Regions from separate parts of the Homo sapiens genome. Here region 1 is linked to region 2. The links are contacts of gene promoters, found by promoter capture Hi-C in human tissues and cell types (Jung and others, 2019). All regions are on one chromosome and are shown on one strand. The core of a region is centred on a gene start or on the middle of the fragment in contact, and the rest is flanking DNA. Distances in the headings are between cores, read along the strand shown.

What was found. Contacts are between HindIII fragments. The study calls those that stand out against the background at their distance.
Region 1: a fragment that was not itself captured here is called in contact with the fragment with the promoter of NKX6-1 in region 2 in 1 of the 25 tissues and cell types used here (dorsolateral prefrontal cortex).

What each region holds. Positions count from the first base shown.
Region 1 is chr4:84,239,293-84,242,852 of GRCh38, forward strand. All of the region lies in intron 5 of LINC02994 (long intergenic non-protein coding RNA 2994), which reads right to left. Among named protein-coding and RNA genes, the nearest start is that of LINC02994, 58 kb to the right of the region's middle. The HindIII fragment of the contact is 9,303 bases long and covers 1-3,560 here.
Region 2 is chr4:84,497,165-84,501,095 of GRCh38, forward strand. It overlaps NKX6-1 (NK6 homeobox 1), which reads right to left and starts at 2,128. Exons shown (of 3, transcript NM_006168.3): 1 at 395-2,128. The coding sequence starts at 1,064. The HindIII fragment of the contact is 8,742 bases long and covers 1-3,931 here.

The DNA.
Region 1 (3,560 bases), core at 564-3,063, 260 kb before region 2:
TAAACTGCCATCAGTCATGGAAAAATCAGCATTAAAATTTGTACAGGACAGATTGTGCAGGGCAGTTAGTAAGCTTCTCACCTACCTTCCTACTTCCAGTCCTATGCCTTTCCCGCCCACCCTCTCCATGGCTCAGAACTCCTCCCCATGGCCTTGCAATGTCCTGTGTGCTGGGAAGTCTGATGATACAGCCACCCTTATCTCTCTCTCTCACTTTTTTCGTTTTTTCTTTTTTTTTTTGAGACAGAGTCCTGCTCTGTCAACCAGGCTGGAGTTTAGTGGCACGATCTTGGCTCACTGCAACCTCTACCTCCTGGGCTCTTGCCACTCCCTCCCATTGAGCTTCAGCCAGTTCCTTTTGCCTCAGGCTCCTTGGCCTCAAGGCCTTTGCCTAGGAAACCAGCTTAGCCACTTCACGTCTCATCACATGGCAAGTTCCTTCCCATCCTTTAGGTCTCAGCTTCAATGTTACCTTCTTAGAAAGGCCCCATGACCCTATCTATAAAGTATATAATTCATTTTATTCTCTATCTCACCTCCTTTTTATTGTTTTCTTTTTGATGCTTACTCACAATTTCTAAGTATTTGTTTATTTGTTTACTTAGAGACCTTCATACTAGACTGGCAGGTATTATACTATTTCTGTCTTGTTCACCATTATATATCCAGTACTTAGCTCAGTGAGTACATAGTAGTTATTCAATAAAATTAGTATTTTACTAAGCACAGCAGTTGCTTAATAAAATGTGTTGACTGAATGGCTTAAAGTGACCAATGCTGGCACTAGCCCAACTAAATAAAAATAAAATTCAAATCTCAATTATAAATTCTTTTTTTTTCTTAGAGACTGGGTCTCACTCTGTTTCCAAAACTGGAGTAAGGTGGTATGCTCAAGGCTCACTGCAGCCCCAACCTCCTGGGCTCAGATGATCCTCCCATCTCAGCCTCCCAAGTAGCTGGGACTACAGGAGTATACCACCACACCCAGCTAATTTTTGTATTTTTTGTAGAAACAGGGTTTTGCCATGTTGCCCAGGCTGGTCTTGAACTCCTGGACTCAACTATTCCTGCCGCCTTGGCCTCCCAGAGTGTTGGGATTACAGGTGTGAGCCGCTGTGCCCAGCCCTCAATTATAAATTGTTATTCTCCACAAATTCCCACAGTGCTCAAGATAGTGGTTTACAGGGAAGTATGAAAGTCAGGTTCCAGTTAAAATAATGCTGTTTCTGTTTCTATTGAAAATTAGGAACTGATTTATGGTGATTTGATGGGACAGATTAACAGCTCTAGAGGGACTCCTTTCCAGTCTACCTTCCTTCCACCAGCCAATCCCCTTACCTCAGGAGATCAAGTGATGATATGAGTGGGTCAAGTCCAAACATATTAATTGGGATACTTAGTATCATCAAAATAATTTAAATAAATCACTGTTGGGGCAAACACTGTCTTCTTTTCTTAGTGTAATCCTATAATCTGAATGTTAAAAACACAGAGAACTAAGATTTGAGTATGGGGATAAGGGAAAGCAAATCAGGAAGGCTACTCTGCAATCTTGATCCTGGCTTCAGGGCTGCCTATTGCAAGCTAATAGAGTTATGGATTCCATGTGTTATGATCTGGATCATTAGGAGACCTTCTTAGGTTGAAGTTAAAGAGAGAAAGTTTGAGTCGAACTGCAGAAGTTTGAAGAGGGCATGACCTCCCCATACCATCCTTAGGATCTTGATATGGTTTGGTAGTTATTCTATCGTGTAGACTCAGGATCCTGAATCCTGGGAAAATAACATCTTAAACAACCATCTTAACACAATATATTCCCCCCTCCGGAGACTTGTTGGTAGTAAATAGAAAATTTTTGCTGATGGCAACAATCCCATGGAGAATGGCAGATTCTACTGCAATTTCTAGAGAGCTGAATGAACAAGTACAGCACAGATTAGGAGCTTGGATTTTAGAAAATACAACAGAAGATGGTGTGGGGCAATTAACAAGTGGGAGATTACTGCCATGTAGTAATATGGTGCCTGTCTTCACTCCAGGGATCTTCAGTAAAGTTATTAACCTCAAAGAATTCATGAGTGGGTTTGAAAATTGAAAAGTTAGGAGGGGATGAAGTCTATAGTTGCTCCTCCCGGTGCCTCTGTCTCTGGGCGGAGCTATACCACAGGATTTGCACTAATCCTGAGGAAGGGGCCAGACTTGTACAGACTGTGTGATAGCATGAGTCAAGTTTCTAAAAATCAAAGCATTAGAGAAGTCTGTATGACATTTAGTTTAACTATGGGAGTCCCACGTGTGTTCCTTCCTCTAAAGCACTCAGTTGTATTTTGGATTTAATCACTACCTTAAAACTGGGAAAAGTGGGCCTTCTATGAAATTGCCAACCTGTGAAGATAGAGAAAAATATAACACACACTGAGAATCAGGCACTGGGGCCCAGGTATTTCTTAATGCAGCAAGTTATCCAAGTGATGAAGTAGCCAGCACAGAATTGGTTTATAGCCCAGCGCTTGAGAGTCATTGATTCAGGATATTGTACTTTTCTTCATGTTAACATGGGTAATCAAGAGTTAGTTTTCATCACCTGACAGTTGTTAGGAATTATTTTTCCCCAATTATTTTTCTCTGATGTTTATTAAAATGCAGATTTTTGAGCCTCAAAAGGGCTTACTGAATGGGAATCTCTTGAGAATGAAGCCCAGGAATCAAAAGATGACACAAATTTTTCTAAGTTGATTGAAGTTTGAAAACTATAGTTCTTTCCTTTCTATTCCCATAATGTGAGACATTTCTGTGCTCACCCACTATCAATCTTGCTTCCTATGACCAGATGACTAATGTGTTCCAGATCCTTCAGCTTTCCTATCCCTTGCTGTTATCACTACTGTAACTTCTGCCAAACAAAGGATGCATCTTCATCTTCAATGGGGTGGCTCTGGATCGCTGGCCTAAAGTATTGTGTAACGGCCTCTAACTACTCACATTCCTGCACCAAAGCCTGCACTTCTGAGTTTCCGACATTTACCGCCCAGTGATGGAGTTAGAAACTTATGTATGGGATTATATATGATCTAGCAATTCCACTTCGGAGTAGTGGTAGTGAAACTGAGTTTAAACGTCAAAATAATGGAAAGCAAAGATTTAATCAGATATTTGAATACACCCATGTTCATAGGAGCATTATTCACAGTAGCCAAAAGGTGGAAGTAGCCCAACTGTTCATCAATGGACAAGGGATAAATAAAATGTGGTCAACAATGGAATATTATTTAACCTTTAAAAAGGAAGGATATGCTGATACATCCTACAGCATGGATGAACCTTGAAGCCCTTATGAAGACATTATGCTAAGTGAAATACGCCAGTCACAAAAAGACAAAAAAAGTATTATACAATGTATGAGGTATCTGAAATAGACAAATTTATAGAAGTAGAAAGTAGAATGGTGGTTGCCAGGGGCTGAGAGGAAGAAAAAATGGAGAGATGGTGCTTCTTGGGTATGGAGTTTCAGTTTTGCAAGATAAAAAAAAAATCATTGAGATTGTTTGCACAACAATGTG
Region 2 (3,931 bases), core at 878-3,377:
CAGTGGCCTCTCCTCCCCTCTCCTCCCCATCTTTCTAATCCAGGCCAGGCCTGCGGTCCTGGCCAGGCCGTTTCAGGAACAGCCAGGGCCTCGGACGAGACACACGTCCCTCACCGCGTTGTGGTCCACACGAACACACACACACCGGCTCAGCCCAGGCGTACTCAAGACTTAGAGAGAGGGAGGCGCTTGGATACAGCCACGCGAGCTCAGAAAAGCGAGAATCCCTTTCTGGAAGCCCTGGCCCAACCTAACTGGTGTGATTCCGGCGCTGTCAAACTACTGGGGCGGGCCACAGGATGGACTGAGCGGCATGCACACCAGGGGCCGCGACCCGGGAGTGGGCAGAACAGGCACGGCAGGCAGGCATCGGGGCGCGGGTGGTAGTACTCACGAGGGGTACAGGCCAGGCGTGCGTCCCTCCAGGGCGGGCTCTGCATCACTCCGGGCCAGAAGATGGGCGTCCGGCCAGGCAGCTCAGCCAGCGGCTTGGGGTACCGGCCCACGGCGGCCACGGCCGCGGCGCTGGGGCTGAAGTAGAGCCCGGGCGGCGGCGGCGGCGGGCTCAGGCTGCTAAAGCGTGGCAGTCCGGCCAGCAGCCCCGCCGGGGATGAGGCGGCGGCTGCGGCCGCGGCAGCAGCCGCGGCGGCGGCAGAGGCGGAGGAGGCAGAGGCGGACGAGGAAGAGGAGGAGGAGGAACCGGAGGGCGAGGCGGAGGGCAGGGCGGCCCCCGAGGCCACGGGCATGGAGGGCCGGCTCAGGATATCGTTGATGCCGTGTGGGGTGGCGGCCGAGAGCTGCTGCGGGGGGCTGCCGAGGGATGAGAGCCCCCCCGTGGCCGGGGGCTTCAGGCCGCCTGGGTTGTGGGTGCCCAGAGGCGGGGAGGGCGACGAGGAGGACGACGACGAGGACGAGGAGGAGGGGGGGCCGGCAGGCAGCGGGGGATACGCGGCAGGGTACAGCGGGGTCTTCATCTCGGCCATGCTGTGCAGGGCGGCCAGGGGAGGGCTGCTGAGCAGGAATGCGCTCTGCCGGGTGCCCTCCATTGCCCCCACCGCTAACATCCCACGGCCACGCCGGAGACCGTAGCCTTGCAGCGAGGGCGCTGGCTGGTGCCCCCCGCGGGGCTCAGAGGAGCCGGAAGCGCCGAGGGCGCGAGCGGAGAGGCACTCGGCGCGCCCGGAGGCGAGCTGCCAACTGAACCAAAAATGCCGCTGCCGGGAGTTGCTCGCCTAGCTGCGCAGCAGAGATGTCCAAACCCTCCACGCGGGAGGCGGCAGCTCGCCGAGAAAAGCAGGCGTCCCGGCGGGCTAGGCAGTCCTTTCGTTCCGCGAGTCCTAGATTCGATCCCTGGCTATTCTCTCTTCCTCACTTTTCCTAGCTGTTCAAAGTGCGCTACTTCTCATCTTCTGCCCCCGGGAAATAAGCAAAACAAAACCCAGGCTGGCTCCGGAGAGTTTGTAGCAAAGTTAGTTGCCGAATCTCCACTTTGAAGTTGGAGGGTGGGGGTGGCTTGCTTTCTTTGGGGAGGTTCAAAGGACGCCTTGTGCAGCCCGTGGCGCTCCTCTGATCTTACTGGGATGCTCTGCTCTTTCGGTCGCGCGGCTGATTCGCATTCGACGCTCACTGTGCCCGGGGAGAAAGCGCATCCAGCCCGCGGGAGATCTAGCCTCTGTGCGGGCTTCCTCCGCCCACGCTGCCCCGGGCTGCTGCGCCAGAAAGGGCAGTGCCACGGATCCCCGCGGCTCCCAGGTCCTCACCTCCACCCGCCTTGCCCTCTGGCCCACGGGGCACTGGAGTTGCAATATTGAAAAGAAAAAGGGGGAGGAAAAACACAGAAAAACAAAAGACTAAGTGTGAAAAGTCTGACGGCTGGGTTTCGGCGCCGCTCGTCAGTCCACTTCTGCAAACGGGCCCGGCGACCCCCGCCCCACCCCCGCTCCCTCTCTCCCTCTCACTCTCAGCCTTTGACTCTCCTCTCTGGCATTTTCTTCGCGGCTTCCCAGGCTTCGGTCTTCTAAGTCCTGTCCTCTGGCCAAACTGACCCTCTCCGCGGCTCCTCCGCTCTTTCTCTCCTTTCCTCTCTCCCTCCGGGCCTGACAGTTCAGATGAAGCTCTCAAAGGTAATAAAACATTTGCATCACTCCCTACCCCTCTTTAGCTGGGGGACGAAAGGGAGGGGGAAGTGGGGGACCAAAATGAGAACTTTGAGGGACGTCACTCCGAGGCTGCGGGGGCCGGCGAGCCGGGCGCAGGCCGGGGGCGTAACCACCGTGTCCAATAGCTCGCCGCCTCGATCCTTGCGTCGCCCCTGGGGCTCGCCCACTCGGGGGCGCCGCACCCTCTGATTGGCTGAGGCGGGCCAGGCGTAGGGCCGCGCCCGCCTAGTCCCCTCCCGCTCCCTACTTCTTTCTCCTGTGGGCGGGGCCAGGAGGGGCGGGAGCTGGTGAGTGGTGCGGTTCCGCGCTGGGGCCAGTGGCCGCCTCAATTAATTGTGCTAAATAAAATGAGAAAGGGGAGGGGGAAGCAGAGACGAAGAGGGTATTACTTTTTAAAGAGAGGAATAATGAAAACTCAGCCCTTTTATGGAAAAGCAGTTCATATTCTTCCCTTGCTTCCCCACTAGCCCGCTCGCGTCATCCTATCCCCTTCCCCCACCAGCTCTGGAGGGCGCCTCACCTCGAACCAAGTCTGGTCCCTTGTAAAATGGAGCTAATGGAGCAGGCAGCCGGCGCAGCCCTGGCCTGGCTCCTTCTTTTGAAGGGATTAATTAAAGGCCATCTGGGCTCTCCCAGAATTGTGTAAATTAATTTGTTGCTCCTTAAGCCTTATAGATGTCCTTAATCCCCTTGTAGGCCAAAGGATCGTCCTCTTCCATCTTTCCACCTCCTGCTTTCCTTTTCTGTTCTTTCTCCTCCACTTTATTTTTTTTTTCATTCCCGAGTTCCCCCCCGCCCGTCGCTTCCCACCGCGTTCATTATCATTTATGGGTTACTCAATTCGCTGAAAACTGAATCCGTTTAATAGGAATATTTATCTGTCAGATGATGTTTATACCTGAGAACAGTGAGGGAGTTTTTTCCCTTAACTTTTCTCCCTTTGATTATTGTTGTTATTTCCTTTGGGTTTACATGGGGGTAGAATCATCAAAATTCAGGCGGAAACTTTAGATACAGAAGCATCTAGGTACACCCTGGGAACTGTAAGCTTTTGAAAACCCTCTCCAAAACTCTGGCGCCTACTCCCAATTCTAGAGTTGCTACGGGAGATGGAGATGTACCAGCTCCTGGACAGTGGTGGTGGGATGTCTATCTAGAGTTTAGGAGTTGAAGGGTGGCTTCCTTTACTCTCTAAATCTCTTCCATCTCTGGCTGATCTTTACGTTCCCGACAGGGTTGAACTGCGGGCTGGAGAAGGAAAACCCTTTGACAATTTTGAGAATTCAGCATGTTAAAGTAACACACCATTGGAAGGTGGTCGCTACAGCAAATTTGGATGAGATCATTAATTACAATTTTAATGAGCAGAAAACAGAAATAAACGCAATAAATGGCTCAAGAATAAAATTTGATCAGCACCACCGACGGATGGAGTTTAGCTATTGGTGTCAAAGCGCTCATTTGGGTCCAAGCACGAAAAGCCAGGAGGGCGTACTCCGCTTCGATAACCTTCGTTTACTAAGCACTAGTTTTTAAGGGTCAGCTTGAGTTTGAGTCTGAAACTGGGGGAAGGAAGGGTTATATTTGCCAGTTTTATTTCCTTCTAAGATAGAAGCAATGTTATTTGGTCCTCCTCTTCCTTTATCTTTCTTCATTAACTTCAAGACTGGTTTAAATCTATTATTTCATGGACTTTAGAATCTGACCTGGGGTAAGGTGAAGTCCTTCGTCAGCATGAATAGTGCTAAGGAGTCAAGCCAAGACTTGCTTCA